2 separate regions of the Homo sapiens genome follow, and region 2 is linked to region 1. The links are contacts of gene promoters, found by promoter capture Hi-C in blood cells and fetal thymus (Javierre and others, 2016). All regions are on one chromosome and are shown on one strand. The core of a region is centred on a gene start or on the middle of the fragment in contact, and the rest is flanking DNA. Distances in the headings are between cores, read along the strand shown.

Evidence for each region. The method cuts DNA at HindIII sites, captures the fragments that hold promoters and counts their contacts. A CHiCAGO score of 5 or more calls a contact.
Region 2: a contact is called between the fragment with the promoter of ELF5 here and a fragment that was not itself captured in region 1, in 1 of 17 cell types (naive CD8 T cells). The highest score is 5.3, in naive CD8 T cells.

What each region holds. Positions count from the first base shown.
Region 1 is chr11:35,466,202-35,474,092 of GRCh38, forward strand. PAMR1 (peptidase domain containing associated with muscle regeneration 1) reads right to left here. Exons shown (of 11, transcript NM_001001991.3): 5 at 4,400-4,617; 6 at 1,800-1,907. Among named protein-coding and RNA genes, the nearest start is that of SLC1A2, 51 kb to the left of the region's middle. The HindIII fragment of the contact is 2,399 bases long and covers 2,556-4,954 here.
Region 2 is chr11:34,510,503-34,518,393 of GRCh38, forward strand. It overlaps ELF5 (E74 like ETS transcription factor 5), which reads right to left and starts at 3,292. Exons shown (of 7, transcript NM_001422.4): 1 at 3,175-3,292. The HindIII fragment of the contact is 1,187 bases long and covers 2,863-4,049 here.

The DNA.
Region 1 (7,891 bases), core at 2,505-5,004:
TTCTTGAAGCCAAGAGAATGCAACATTTCTCTGGTCTGCCTTGCACACAACATGGCAGGCTCAAATGAGGCAAGAACCACGAAGCAGAACATCATTTTCTATGTCTCTAGCAGTCACACTCAAGTGAGCTGTGCCAAACCAGGGCAAGGATGCTCTTAGTAGAAATCAATGGCACACACAGGGACCCACTATTGAAACCATGGTTTCCATCTGCATTGTTTGCAAGAAAACATTAGTGAAAACTGGGCCAGTGCAGTGGCTCACCCCTGTAATCCCAGCACTTTGGGAGGCCGAGGCGGGTGGATCACGAGGTCAGGAGATCAAGACCATCCTGGCTAACACGGTGCAAACCCGTCTCTGTTAAAAATACAAAAAATTAGCCGGGTGTGGTGGCGGGCGCCTGTAGTCCCAGCTACTTGGGAGGCTGAGGCAGGAGAATGGCGTGAACCCAGGAGGCGGAGCTTGCAGTGAGCCGAGATCGCGCCACTGCACTCTAGCCTGGGCGACAGAGAGAGGCTCTATCTCAAAAAAAAAAAAAAAAAAAAAGGAAAACATTAGTGAAAATTAATTCAAAACATACACAAACTTTAGAGAATACTGCCAGACCAGGCTGTTAGATGACCACAGAGTACCTGTGCACTCTAGTTAGAAGTGACTGTAGTAGATATTGTTGGTGCTCTGCCCTCGGGTCTATTTTCTGTGTTTCTGTGGGCCCTTTTCCCCTCCCCATCCTATGGTATTTTACTTCCAATGGCCTGTACTTGTGATTCTCTTTCAGGGAACTGCTCAGGGGCTACTGGAACCACTTTGCCCACATGCATAGAAAGCCATATGTGCCCACGGTTTATGTCCTCCAGTTCCCCAGGGCAGCCCGCACCCAATGACTGATTGCTGTGGGCATATGAAAGCCCAGATCCCTTGCCTTAAAGCTAGAACATTACTCTAAGGAGTAATGTACATTCCAGATCTCATGACAGGTTAACACTGAGGTTGGTATTTTGCCTGAAATCGCACCCCTACTTGGCCTCCTTCCCTTCCCAGGCCAGCTTCCCACACCCCTATAAGCTTCCCCAGGGAGCCTGTCCTTAACACTTCACTTGTGTACACATTCTCAACTCACGATCTGCTTTGGGAAAACCTACCTAGGAGACTCTCTGTCCTCCTTTGCTCTCCCCCAAATTCTTGTCCTTATGCACATCACATTCCATGCTGATGGCTTCCATCTGTGACACCTGTTTTCGGTCTGGTAACCAAGGCCTTATATAAGACATGTGTTAAAACATGACCATATAGTTTGTCATCCAATTCAAGACACTTTGCTCACGAAAGAGGATGCTATTAATAATTTTGCTCAGCAAAATGTATATCTACCACCCTCATTGCAGGGCTTCAAGTTATGCAATAAGTCACATTGGAGCCTGTGAATGGTGCCAGAGTATAAATCTAAAATACAGATCTTAGAATGGACAGGGATACAGACTGAGCCACAGGAAAGTTTGTTGACCTTTTTCAGTGTTTTTGAGCTCTGAATATTACTAGAGGCCATTGTATCTTTCTAAGAGGTATTTGCAGCAAGTGAGGGTTGGAAATGTCAATAGACAAACCTAGGAAGTTGAAGAGAACCTGACTCAGAAGCAGCTATGCCCCTCTGAGAATCACTCACTGGGAGTATCCACACTGTGCACCATCTTGGACAGAGCATCCTAGACATGAAGAAAGAGTTGGCCCTGCAAGCTCTTAAAATCCTTCCATACCAGCCCCATCTGACACCTTAACTCCCACTTAGGAAGCATACTCACGATTTTCACAGCGCTGCCCAGTATAGCCTGCCAAGCAGGCACACTTGTAAGATCCAGCCTTGTCAAGGACGCACGTGCCGTCATGGAAACAAGGGGATGAGGAGCATGCTGTAAGAGAAAAGGCATCCTTCAGTGCCACTATACATTGAGTCGATGTCTTCAGGCCCAGAGTCTTGACCAAAGTCTTTTAATTCCTTATTAAAGTCTTCTTGCAATGTTTTTTCTTCCCTTTACTGAATTCATGTTATGATTATTTGAAAATGCCTAAAATAGATACTCATTAAATATCAAATGTTGGTGATATTATTTGATGTTTTTGAGGGCCCCAGAAGTATGCTTAACGCTCCTATAGTCTGAAGACCACAAGGCAATGCAAACAAGAACATTAAATTGATGAAAGCAGAGCCATGCTTGTATCTCTCCCATAGGGGTTTCAGCGGACAGAGACATCCTTGGGTAGCTGAAGACCATCTTTTTTCAAATAAAAGCTCACCATCCTGGGTACTGGGGCAATGCAACTGGAAGACAATCATTATGACACTGTTGAAGGTATATTCAATAATTTCCAAACTTACATTCTGTAATCATTAGTCCCTTGAGATGTTGATGTGTTTTACTAAGGGTTCTGAGCTCAAATATGTTAGGGAAATGTTGCTGACATTCAATGCTAATTAACCAGATTTCTTTACTGCAGAACTTCTCAGTTCAATGCCCCAATATACATTGTGAGTTTCCTAATATACATTGTGAATTTCAAGCTTATTTGACCTCAAAGCCTGCATTTTACAAGGCATCCTGGGGACTATTTTTCTACAGAAAAGATTTTGAGAAACATTCATCTGTGTGTTATCCATCAATCCTACATTCATTTATCCCAATGTAGAAGTATATTCCTTGGCTCAGTTCAACAAACCTGTCTTGAGTACTTGCTCAAAACATGACAAGGGAGAAATACAAGGAAGAACAGGATGTCCTATTTACCAGATTAAAACTACTTGAAGAAAAATATAAAACGACTATGACTTGAAGCATAATATAGTTAGTGTATTACGAAGAAAGAAGAGGCAATGCTACAAGACATTCAAAAAAGGGCAAAGCCATAGCTTGTTGGAGCAAGAGAAAAGATTTAGGAGAGGAGGAAGAATGTAGTAGGGGCTATGAAGGATGGATTTTGATGTGCAGGTTGCAGACAGGTGACTTTAGCCAGAGGAAATATCTTGAAGGCAAGTGAACAAACAGGGATGTTTGAAAAATGGGAAGTGGTATTATTTGACGGCATTGATAAAACACAGGCCAGTATTGCCAAAGTTCTCCAGGGGAGGTTGAGGAGGTCATTTCAGAGGAGCAAGACATTCTCCTGACCGTCCCTCAGTCCCAGATTCACAGACTGGCCAGCCACTGCTGCCCCTACCTGGCTTGCTGACTGTCCTAAGCCCCCACAGACACATCTCATGTGGGACGTTGCTCAGCCTATACCTGCAGGGTGTCACCAAGGGAAGAGGATTCAGCCACAGGCTGATCACACCACAGCAGCAAAGCATCAGAACTCCCAGGCCCTGCACAGCTCCACAGGGGGCAGGCACAGAGACTGTAGAGAGCACCTGCTGAGAGTTCCTGTAGGCAGCCTCCTAAAAGAGGGGTAGACCGGGGAGCAGGGTCTCCTGGCCTTGCTGAACAGACAGGACTGAAGAAACACTGATTATTCAGCCACCCACCTTCTTTCCTGAGACTTTCATGTCATACCCTATGAATAAGGAAGTCTTAATGATCAGAATACCATTACGAGTTCTTTTTTAATTCAGTTTTTTTTTTTAAATCAAACTTCAAGCCTGTGTTTATTTTGTAAAACCTGATGCAATCTGATCTCAGAACGATGAGAGTGGGGTGATTGCTTAGGATTAAGCATTTTGTTCAGTTTGGTCAAATCCTACTTCCTAATATGATCACAGCAAGAGTTACAGTCAGGCTTAAAGTTACTCATCAAGTCAATGACATTTACCATTATAGTCTTTTAATACCTATTTTATAGGTGGCAAGTGGAGGGTAAATGTATGCCTAGGGTTGGGCAGCTGTTGAATTCTTACTATGTACCAGACTATGCCAAGCTCTCCATTTGTTCTGTCTCTCAGAGCCTCCTTAATGGAGAAGGATCTACTATTACTCCCTTATCACTCATTAGGAAACAGAGGCCCAGTGGGGTAGAAGAACTTACCCAAGGTCACATAGCTTGATCTGTCAGGGATTTAAAGCCAATGCTCCCAACCATGAGAGGTCACCCTGTGTGAGCTCTAGAGCCGAACAGCTTGGGTACAAATCCCTAGTTCTGCCCCTATATCTGTGTGACCTTGGACAAGTCATTCAGCCTCTCCGTGCTTTAGCCACTGCCATTTGTATAAGGGAGATCATTCCTAGTTCTGGTTCTGAGTGAGTTTTTCTGAAATATACCTTGCTATTTCTTTTTTCTCAGTGTGTAGGCTGTTTCTAAGAACACAGCCTACTAGGTTTTAATAAGGATGAGAGGAAGAAAGGAAGGGACATGGAAAGGAGATATTTATCTGGAGCAAGCCATAAAATGCCACATTTGTCTCCTTGGCCTTTACCTGTGATCTCCTCATAAATGGCATGGAAACCGTCAAAATTCTTGGAGCCATCGGAGTGGAAGAGGACGTGGAGTGAGGATCCTATGCTCTGGATAGGAGCTGGCCGCTCGTTGCCACAGACACGCTTGATGATCTGGCCATCGCGGTTGTCTCCATCACGAACCTCAACATAGTCATACTGGCACATGTAGTCAAACTCCAGGCTCAACATGACAAATCTGTGGGTGGACAGGGTGACGGAGGGAAGCAGATGGGCCCTGGACAGTCCTGAGACCGCTGGGCTCATTCAAGGCCAGATGAGGAACAGGCCTGAGGAACAGATGGTGTCACTGGCCTGATCGGATAGGAAAATGGTCCTCAGAGGTTGGCGAATTTCTCTTAGCAGAGGAGTATGTATTTGTGCACTGTTTGCATGTATGTGCACATGCAAGTGCCTGCCCAGGTGGAGCAAGGTGCCATAATCCATGCAGAGACTCTTTGCATGTGTTGGTCTCTTTTCCAGGGCACTTTTTCCTCCCAGTCTGTGTGGCTGGTTCCTTCCTATCCTCAGGCCTAAGCTTAAATATTCTCTCCTCAAAGAGGCTTCCCTGACCACTCTTTCCAAAGAAGATCCCTTATTTTTCTCATACTGTAGACATAAATTTCAACCTCTTATATTTACCTCCTTGACTTTTTGTGTGTCTATGTGTGGCCTGTCTTCTCCACTGGCCTGCAAGTAACTTGAAGGCAGAGAGGAACACCTGCCTCGTTCCACAGTTTTCACAGTGTCCAGCGCAGTGCCTGGCCTATGGAGATGCTACAGATATTGCCAAATATACGACTGAATGGATACTTTATTGTAATTTTATAGTTGGAGAATGAAAAAAAGCTCATATTGTTTTGCAAGACTAAGTAAAGGGGAAAACAACAACAACAACAAAAAAAACCTCTGCACACTCTTCCGTTTGATGGAAGAATCAGAAGGTAATTATCTTCTAGGCAACGATAATTCTCACCCAAAGAGTAGAGAAAGTAGCACCAAGTCAGAATTTCAGGGGTTAAGGAAACCTGACACATCCATGCTTATCCAAAAGGGGTCTTGGGTTTGAAAACACTGAGATACACCAGATTGGAAACACAGAAGATGACATTAAGCCCCCGATTCCAAGAGACAAGAAAAGCAGCAGCCACATCCCAGGGCAAGAGAGGCAAAAGCATTTTTCCAGGATTCCCAAGGGAATACATGAGTATCAAGTTCACAAAATGTATGTCTGTACCTTCTCCTCCACACTCTGGAGAAAAAATAGAAATAGAAAGGCCCATAACTGCTGCCTAAAATGTTGGGAGTAGGGATATTTCTGCCACCTACAGTAAAAACCCAACATGCCAGCATTAGGGAACACTGGAATATAGTGACAATCAGTATATTGATTGTAAGTGTTCTAAAAGGTACTATTAACAAAGAAATCCAATAACCGAGTTTCATCAGTGTTTACTTCACAAAGGGTTGATCACAGAGCTTTTGGGGTGTAGGTCCTGTGAATCGCATTTTGTACAGCCTGCTCTAACATCTAAGAGGACAGCTGATTTCTTATGCAGATGCCACCATGCACTCACTGTGTGTGTTAAGGAATCAGCTCCTTCTCTTGGCCTTGATATCTTTGTCTTCAGAGTAAGGGAGAAGCTACCACCTGACAGAAGCCACAGTTTTTTCCGAAGCTGAAGAGATAGTGCAACTATATTTGCGTTCATGCATTCATTTGTCCATTTGTTCACTTACTGAACACATATTTCTGGAGGCCAGCTCTGTCCCAGACACTGTACTAGGTGCTGTCAGCATAGCAGTGCCCCAGCTACCAGCTAGGCACGTGCCGGCCCTCATGGAGATTAATTCTGGGTTAGAAGATAGATAATAAGCAAGGAGACTAAACAACAAGGTAATTTTAGAGTGCTGAGTGCCGTGAATCAAATTAACCAGGTAAGAGCATAAAAAGTGACTAAGGTGTTAAGTTTCTGACACAATGTGGTCAAAGAAGCCCCCTCTGAGGATGTGCTAGCTGGGCAGAGGTTTAAATGATGCAGTAGAGCCAGCCTTGTGAAGGTCATGGGGCAGAGTGGTCCAGGCAGGGGAATCTGTAAGTGCAAAGGCCCTGGAGCAATGATGAGGTTGACATGTTCGAGAAACTGAAAGAAAGCCAGGGATGCTGCAAGGTGGTGAATGAATGGGAGAGTGATAGGATCTGAGGCCAGTGAGGGCAGCCTGCGATAGATCTTGTGTGGTAAGGAATCTAGATTTTATTCCAAGTCTATAGGAAGCCTCTGAAAGGTTTCAACAAGGGGATAATGCCGGATTCAGATTTTAAAGGCTCCCTGCAGCCACTCTGCAGAGAGGAGATGGCAGAGCTGGCAGGAGTGGAAGCCAGGAAGCCAGTTAGGAGGGCATGACAGAATCTCAGTGGGAGATGGGTGTGGCTTGAAGCAGAATGGTGACAGTGGTGACAGAGAGCTGTGGATGGACTATTTTTCAAGCAGGAAAATAGACTTTGTGGTGGTCTGGTGGTAGGTGATGGAAAAGGGGCATCAGGGACACCTGCTGGGCTTTGGGGCTGAACATTGTGCCTATGCTTCCAAGTATTTCCATCATTATTACTGTCCCTGGCCAGGTGCTCCAGACTTAACTAAAGGAAAAGAAATCCACACATTTCCATGACTCCCTAAGGCCCTTTCCTGGGCAGCTAATATGCTTCTCAATCCTCCACCGTTTTGCTATTTTAGAATATCCTTTTGCATCTTGGATTTTGGAGAAGCTCCTCAGAGGCCCAGAGGGGACCATTTGTCTTGGTCCCTGAGCTGCTGAAATATTAACATGCAGCATTTAACACCTACCTTTATCATCCCTGCAGACCCAGCCTTGAGCTCAATGGGCGGAACAGTGTGGTTCATCGCTTGTTCCTTGAGCCAGGCTTCCTCTAGGAATTAATGAGACTCATTCCCAACCCCACGTCCTCAGGGAGTGGAAACACAAGCTGTCATGCACTAGTTTTGAAGAGGAAGATTGAGAAGGGGACTTGTTTTGCTGGATTTTTCTAATTCAGGGTACCATGTTGCCCCTCCTGGAGGACAGAGAGACATTCAAGGAGCCAGGTAGCATGTGGTAACCTCTGTGTCCATTTAGCCACCCAGAATATACTTAGTGAAAGCCTGTGCCCTAGAGGATTAGGGATTTTAAATCCGTTCACTGTCACCACAGGGTTAAAATGAGAAGAGCTAAGTGGACAATGACCCTAGCCATTCTAGGGGTGAGTGAGGAAAGCGGGAGGTGTTTTTCATTAGAGAGAAGATACACTGCAATCAGAAGGCAGTTCTTTCAGCATTTATTCATGCAACAAGCATTTATCATGCAACTATAGTGTGCCATGAACTGTTCCAGCACTATGATGCAGTCATGAACGGTTCTCACAAAACAGGACCCTCGTGTAGCATTTATCAATAGTTACAATAAAACAGGATCTA
Region 2 (7,891 bases), core at 2,042-4,541, 960 kb before region 1:
GGACTTCTTTAGTGGAGGTAGAGCAGGATAGGTGTGAAAAGGCAGATGTCCAGAGCCCCCTTTCTCAGAAGTAACACTGAGGCCCAGGGATATGTGAACACAGGCCTGAGGTTAGGCCAGGCCTGCTCAAGGGGGGTGATATTGCCCCCCTCTTTAGGGAACAAAGATGAGTTCTTGGGGATCAAAAAACTGAGTTATTAATTACAGTGTTTTATCATGCTCCAAAGGTCTACAGTAGATGTATAGTTTATCTCTGGTACTCACATTTCTGGTGGGGAGATGATTAAGAAAAAATGACCTAAAAAGTGTCCTTAGGAGAAGTGATAAAAAAAAGGTGGAGAAGCGCTGTGATAGATCCACCTAGTGTCAGCGCCAGTACAGACAGGGATCTGCTGGGAGGTCTCTTGGCCTGCTGTTCTGGACATACTTTTCATTTTGTGAGGGACTAGCTGGCTCATCATGGAAGGAGCCCTGGGCCTGGAGTTATGATTCTGCCTCTTGCCCCTCTCCAAATCTCAGTTCTTCAACTACTAAACAAGAACACAGATAAAACAGCCCCCAAGGTCTGCCCTAACTCTGTGACTTTCTGCAGACACCCACCTGATTGAGCCAACACATCCAAACCTGGGCACTCACACACATATGCATACACATTGATTATATTTGCATTTTTTTGGTCAAGCAAGTCCACCAAATTGGAGGAAAATCCAACCACTACACACAGACTGAACTTTTAGTGCTGAAAAAGCTCCCTGATTTCCTCTTCTCCCTTTTCTCCTGTGCCCACTGCCTTCTACCCCAGTTGGAGGTAGATACCTCAGGACAACTGGATATTCTTTGCCCAGCCTAGCTGGGTACCTTAAACACTCTGGACCCTCACTCACTGCCCACCGATAGATCCGTGGAAGCTGGAATCAGTTTCCCCCAAATGTAGTCATCATTCTAGCTGCCTAGTAAGTAGGAAAAGCTCAAGAATGATTAACACAAGGTGGTGGAATCAGGTGGGCTCACTTCACACATGAGAAAGTTGGCTGCAGGTACCTGTGGGAGTGAGGCAGAGATGGCATGGAAGCTGAGGTCCCCAGATGCCTCCAGTGGCTTCTGAACCCTTCTCAGAGCTGGCTCACACACCAAATGCACACAGAGAGGGTCCACCGAGTTGGAGGGACAGGCCTGTGGGCTTCTCAGTGTCACACAAATCAGAGGCAGCAATAACAGGTGTGGCTCCCATGGCCTGAGCAACCCGGCACCCCTGCTCAGCCTCCCAGAGAGAGGGGAAGGAGCAAACCACTCAGCCTTGGCCAGTTTGCCAGAGGAGGAAAATTCCTTCCTGACTCTGGTGGTGATCATCAACTTCACTCTGGGCATGTGACCAAAAATTGGCCCAATTAAGCATCTACACATTGGCTGTTTACGGGCCAAATCATCACTGGGCAGAACTAGGCCATAGGGTGCAAAATATAGAAAAAAGTGGCCAAGATTGGGCTTCCTCAACCCCACCCTCTGAGTGGTATCATTGGGAAGAAAATCGGTTTTCCTTCCTTAAAGCCTCAGTGATACCCAAATGTCCACTCCGTCCCAAGACTTGTGAGCAAGGGAGGGTCAATTTCCCAGCCCTTGGACCTCCCTAAGAAGGGGCCCACTGAGGAGAACCCAGTGGAGTATTTCAACACTTACTGCTAAAGAAAGATTGAGGGTTGGGTGCTTGAGGGTTTGTTCTTCTGAGAGGAACCCTAGCAACTGTGAGAACCAATTTGCTGACCTCTTGTCAAGTGATTCCTCATTTTTCTTTAGCTCGCTTAGGGAGTTTGCGTGTTTGTTTGTTTGTAGCTGTTTTTCTGAAGGTGCAGCGAAGATCCAAAAAGGTATGCCATGTAGTTTGCTGTAGGCTTCGATGCAAAGCTTACCAGTTTTGGATTACATATATCAGGGGTTAAATCCTACCTCTGCTGCTGCGAACGTGGGGCACATTTCTTACTACCCAGACTGCTGAAATTCTTAAGCTTTTTTTCATATAGATGTGGTATATAAATATTCATGCCCCTCTTCGAACTACGGTTTCCTCATCTCTAAAATGGGGATTTTTTTTTTTTTAAATCATGCAATCCGATATATGCAAAGGACGGGGCATAATACATATATTCAATCCTGTTTTAGAGGGAAAAATCAGCCATCAACAATGTATCTAAAAATTTGCCACTCTGGTGACTTCTGAAAAAGGGAGATGACCAAACTGAAAACTCCGGCCCGAGAATACCTTAGATTATGAAAAACAGTATTGCAGAGAACACGAAGACAACAGAATCAAGCGTTCACTCGGATGGGCAAACCACCCCTTTCCCTGGGTCTCTGGACTAGACTGAACCACAGAGCTGCCTCCCTAAGTCATCTAGCCTTTCTGGCCTCAGTTTCCTCATCTGTAACATGAAGCGATTGCACCTAGTGATGTCTGACACACTTTCGGGCGTACAAAAGGCATCCACACGCAGGCCCGGCTTCAGCCTGAGGAGGGAGCTTGTGCTACCTGTCGCTGTCAGCAGGGGGCAACCCCACAGAAACCCCACACACTGCAGAGTCTGACAAGGCCTGAGAACACAGTGGAAAAACGCTAACCATTGCTTTTCTGGAAGCATTCTCTTCTGGGGAGATGTCAGAGGGCAAATGGGTTTCTTTTAAAACTGTTTTGTACAAATTCCTGAAAATGCCCCAAACTATAATAAGGGAGTTCTCTGTATCGAGGGGGTGGGGGACAGTGGGCAGGCCGGTGGGGAAAGGAATTCAGTCAGGGGAGAAGGGTAGGTGGGGGGCTTTCCTTGAAGCTGAATATTTTTCTGAGTAAAATCCAGCTTCCCTTCCTAAAGAAGCTTTAGGGAGGATAGAGAACTGAGCGCCTGGGCGCGTTCTCTTAATTCCCCTTGGTTCAGCTAAGGGATCCAGAGGGAGTGGTGGCTGTGAGGAGGGCTGGTGGCCACACGGCCTGCGGAGGCAAGCAGGTCTCTCTGAGGCAAGCCGTCACATCCGTGTCAAACAGCTCCCGGAGGCCCTGGGACTGCACCCAGCGCAGGTGCCGGCCCTGGAGCTGGAGATGGACGAGCAGACCCAGGCCCCAGGCCGAGCCTCTGAGCCCTGACACCCCTTACGATTCATCCAAAAAAGCAAAGAAAAGGCGCTTACGTGAGGGCAGCGGTGGCTAGGTCCAAAGAGGAGGCTTTCAAGGCAAGAGAAGGCAGGCGCTCCCAGCACCAGCGTGCAGTGGAAATAAAGACACCTGTAGCCTTGTGATATAAGTGACACCTACAGACAGGTCCGTTTGGTTTTTCAGGTTTACGCACAGCCCCTTTGATGACGGTGACATACAGTGTGACACGGCTCCTTGGAGGGGGGGAAATGGTTCTCATATGCAGAAAGTTTACCTTTATCCTGCTTTTGTGCGCAGCTCACCCCTGCCCTGCAACCCCCCACTCCCAGCCCAGGGGACTCAGTAAACAAGCAGAAAATTCTTGTCCCTGGGAGCTGTGCGGGGATCGTGCGTTTGGTGAGGAATTTTCCTCTGTGCAAGCTGGAGGGGAAACACAGAGATTCCACCCTGGTGCCGGTCTGCGCTGCCTCTCTCCCAGGCTGGCTGAGCCCAGTGCTTTTGTAAGATCATGTCTTTCTCCGTTTTTCCCATGTGGTGAGAAGGAAGAGCATTATAGGCCCAGTGTTAAGACCTCAGGTTTTGCAGCTAGTTGCCTTTAGATTCAAATTCAGTGTCCATCATTTCCTAGCTGTGCTACCTAGAAAAATGTAGCTAACATCTCTGGGCTTCATGAGTGTAATGTAAGTGATGGGGCCTCTCCTCATGTGGATGCCAGCTCTCAGGTGTCTCGCTGAGAACTGCCCGCTTTTTAGTACTTCTTCGTGACAACAGAAACTCTGCCTAATTTAGGCTGCAAAGCACAGTGTCCCAGGTCATCTATGAGACAGGTATTTATAACCCTGTGCCTTTTTGCATTCTGCTTCTAGCCATCTTGGGCAGCCGAGATGTTGTATTCAAATGGCAGACTCCAAGCTTTAAAGCGAAAGCAAGGACTGGTTTGTTATGTTTTCTTGGGATCACCGGGCATGGTTACAAACACACAAATACAAATACGCATATAGTCTGCAGAAACAAAAGGCAGTTCGTGAGAGGATTCGGGGTGTCATCATGGAAAAATTGTTGAAGGAAGATAGGTGACTGCCTAGACCCCTATCTTGGCTGGGTAACCTGGACTTCTCTGGGCTTCATTTTTCCCCAGTGGCAAAAGGAGGAAGTGGGATTGAAATAGTGATTTTTTTCAAACTGTGACTTGAGGAACCCCAGGGGCTCCCTGGAGCCCTTACAAGGACTTTTGCGGGTGAGAGGATGGGAGTGGAGTAGAGTGGGTTAGGCTCTAGACCACCCCGTTCCTTCCTGACTCAATAAGAGCATCTCAGCTTTTATATAAATCTTCCGGGTAAGATTTCATTTGAACAAAAGAATCTGCCCTTAGAAAGGGTTTGCAAGTAACTGGATTACATGGTCTTTGGGCCTCTTTCAAGCTTTAAAATTCTGTACTTCTCTTCCTCTTTGGTTTCTAGGGGACTGTGCACTGTGATAGTCCCACACACTGTGTTTTCCATTGTTGGGCACTGGCCTATCTTGTCATTGATTTCTGAAATGTTACCAGTGTTTCTTTCTGAACATATACATTCTTCTCAGTGGAGAGGTTTTTAGGGAAAACATGTTATTCTGATACTGTTTTTAGAAAGAGTCTTTTGGGCTGGGCGCAGTGGCTCATGCCTGTAATCCCAGCACTTTGGGAGGCCGAGGCAAGCAGATCATGAGGTCAGGAGTTCAAGACCAGCCTGGCCAACCTGGTGAAACCCCATCTCTATTAAAAATACAAAAATTAGCTGGGCGTGGTGGTGCACATCTGTAATCCCAGCTACTCAGGAGGCTGAGGCAGGAGAATCGCTTGAACCCAGGAGGCGGAGGTTGCAGTGAGCCGAGATAACGCCATTGCGCTCCAGCCGAGGCAACAGAGTGAGACTCCATCTCAAAAAAAAAAAAGAGTCTTTTGGAGAAATTATATTTTTTCTATACTCTTTTGGCTCAATTTTTTCCCCAGGGGCTGTGGCTGCCCAACTGACTCAATTATTTGAGTATAAAAGTCTTCTGACAATGGATGTACAAGACCATGAACTCTGTTTGTCTCACGGTCCCAAATGAATAATATAGCATTTCTGGGTGCCCGTGTGTGAAATTGCAGGCTTCTGGATCAGTGGATAAAAGGGATGATTAAGATAAACCCAAAATAAAAGAAGAATTTGACTCTAATTAAGTGTAACTATCACTTTAAACTTAAATTTGATTGGAATGGAGATCTTGGATGATATTGAACATGAAGCATCTAAGAACTTCATTATGAGTGTTGAATGACAACAAGAATGGGGACTGGGGATGGAAGAGGAAGGTAAAAGGACTAGGGTGGAGGGAGGGGGCAGAAGAAGGAATGAGACATTTTAGAACTCCCAGCCTATCCTGCTTCTGGTGTCCTGGCTATACAGCAATATTAAGTAACACCAATTGGGCTTATAATTGTAACGTAGTGGCTAAGAAAACAGATTCTGGAAGGAGACTTCCCAAGTTTGAATCTCTGATCTGCCATTTGCTGTCTGGGTGAGTCTGGGAAGCCTATTGAACATCTCTGCATCCCAGTTGCCTCATCTGTAAAATGGGAAAAAAGGAATACATTTCCTGTAGGGTTGTTGTGTGAATTAAATGAGTGAAAACTTGGGGAGTAGAAGGAGCCCTAACTAAGTGTGGCTTATTTACATTTTGACCTGTTATATTCCTTACATTAAATTTTCATACATATTCGACAAGGAAGTTACTGATCATCTCTAATTTACAGATGAGGAAACTGAGGCACAGAGAGGTTAAGTAACTTGTTCACGGTCACACAGCTAAGTGGTAGAGCAAGTATTTTAGTCTAGGCTGCCTGCCTCTGGAGCCCATCCTCTTAACTGTTGTGCTAATCAGTTTCTGGGTGCTCCTGGGGCAGTTCTTTGCGGATAGGGAGGAGAGAATCACACCTAAAGAGCATCTATGATGTACCAAGTATTGTGCTGGGATGACTCACTTGTATTTCCTTGGTAATTTTTCACAATTATCGTGGGAGGTAGCTATCACTATTTTCTTTTTTAAGACAAAGAAACAGAGGTGCCATGATTGCTGAGGCTCACCCAGTTGGTCAGTGGCCAAACCTGCACTGAACTCAGGCCTGACCAATGTTAAAGGCAAGCTGTGGAAACAGGAGCTTAAGTTGGCCTCTCTTCTTTTGCTCTGGCCTCAACACTGGCCTAAAAGGTGGCCCATCTGTCTCTGTTGGCTCAAGATTTCTAGGATTCATGGTTATTGCTGGCACAATCTTTCTGTTAGTATAGAGTGGAAATTCTGGTACCTCACTGAATCTGGTGCCTAGTATCGTTCTTGGGATCAAGAACGCACTCAATACCTACATGGATCATAAAATCATGTGACTTAAAGGGCATACCATCTGACAGAGGCTGGAGGCTTCCATCCTATTCTTTTCACTACATATAACAGGCTTCACATCTCAGATGCTTTTCCTAGAACTTGCTTTCTTTAACCAAGGTGAACATTTCTTTGTCATTTATTTTTTCCCTCAACCTGCCAACTTCACCACCATCCCAAGAGGCAGCACAGGCTGAAAACAAAAGCGAGTTAGAAAAACAAGTTTAGGTAAATTCACAGATAATACCATTGGAAGGAGAGATTTACAGTGTGATGGTGAAATGCACTGGCTTTGGATTAGACCCCTGTCACTATTATTCTCATATTATTTTTAGAAAAGAGTCTGTTGGAGAAAATGCAATTTTCTATGCTCTATTGGCTCAAATATTTGGGAACAAAAAGATTTCTGTCAGTGGGTGTATATAACAACAAACTCCTAGCACCTGCCACCTGGGAGACATTAGATGAGCTATCAGCTTTTCAGGGTCACAATTTCCTCACCAGTGAAGTATCTACTACTATGATTCTTGGTGCATGGTAAATTTCAATAAATGGCAGTTATTGTAATGGGCTATAGAGAGAGACACAGATATTGGTTGAGAGCCCCAACCTTTGGGCATTACCATAACAAGTAGGATAATGTTGCCCTTCCTCTTCCACAATGAATAATCATAATAGCTACCATTTGCTGAGCATTTACCGGGTGCAAAGAACTGTCTAGGCATGCTACAGGTATTAAGTCATTTAATCCTTATATCATTCCTCCGAGGTAGGTACCATTATTATCACCTAAAATTTACTGATGAGGAAACAGGGATAGAGAGTTGAAGTAACTTGCCCAATATCACATAGCACATGAAGCTTAAAGCAGTACTGGAGCCTCTGCAGGATACACCAATGCACCATATATGGAGCCTATGCACCAGAGTCCACAAGCTTTACCATTATGCTACCATTTGGTACCTCTCGGTGAGGCAGAATCTAAGTTGAAGAGATACCAATTTTCTTAAACATCCCAAATTGCTGGTAGGATCCTTGAAAGCAAGGACAAGAGTCATGAATCTTTTGTCCCCCCAAATGCCTTGCACAGACTTGTGCAAAAGTAGGTGCTTAAGCAATTCTCATTCGTTGATTGTCAATTGGTTGATTGATTGGTCAGATTTCTTTCTTTGCTTTGTTTCCTCTTTGGGTGTTTTCCCTCATCCTCCTACATCCAACTCACTCTTTAGCTGTTCATGCTACCATCTTCCTGACCAGAAGCCCCGATTCAATCGAAGCAACAGTTAGGTGGCCCTCTTAATAACCCTTCCTTGGCTATGAGCCTCAGGACAGTAAAGGTCTCTGTTATTTCCA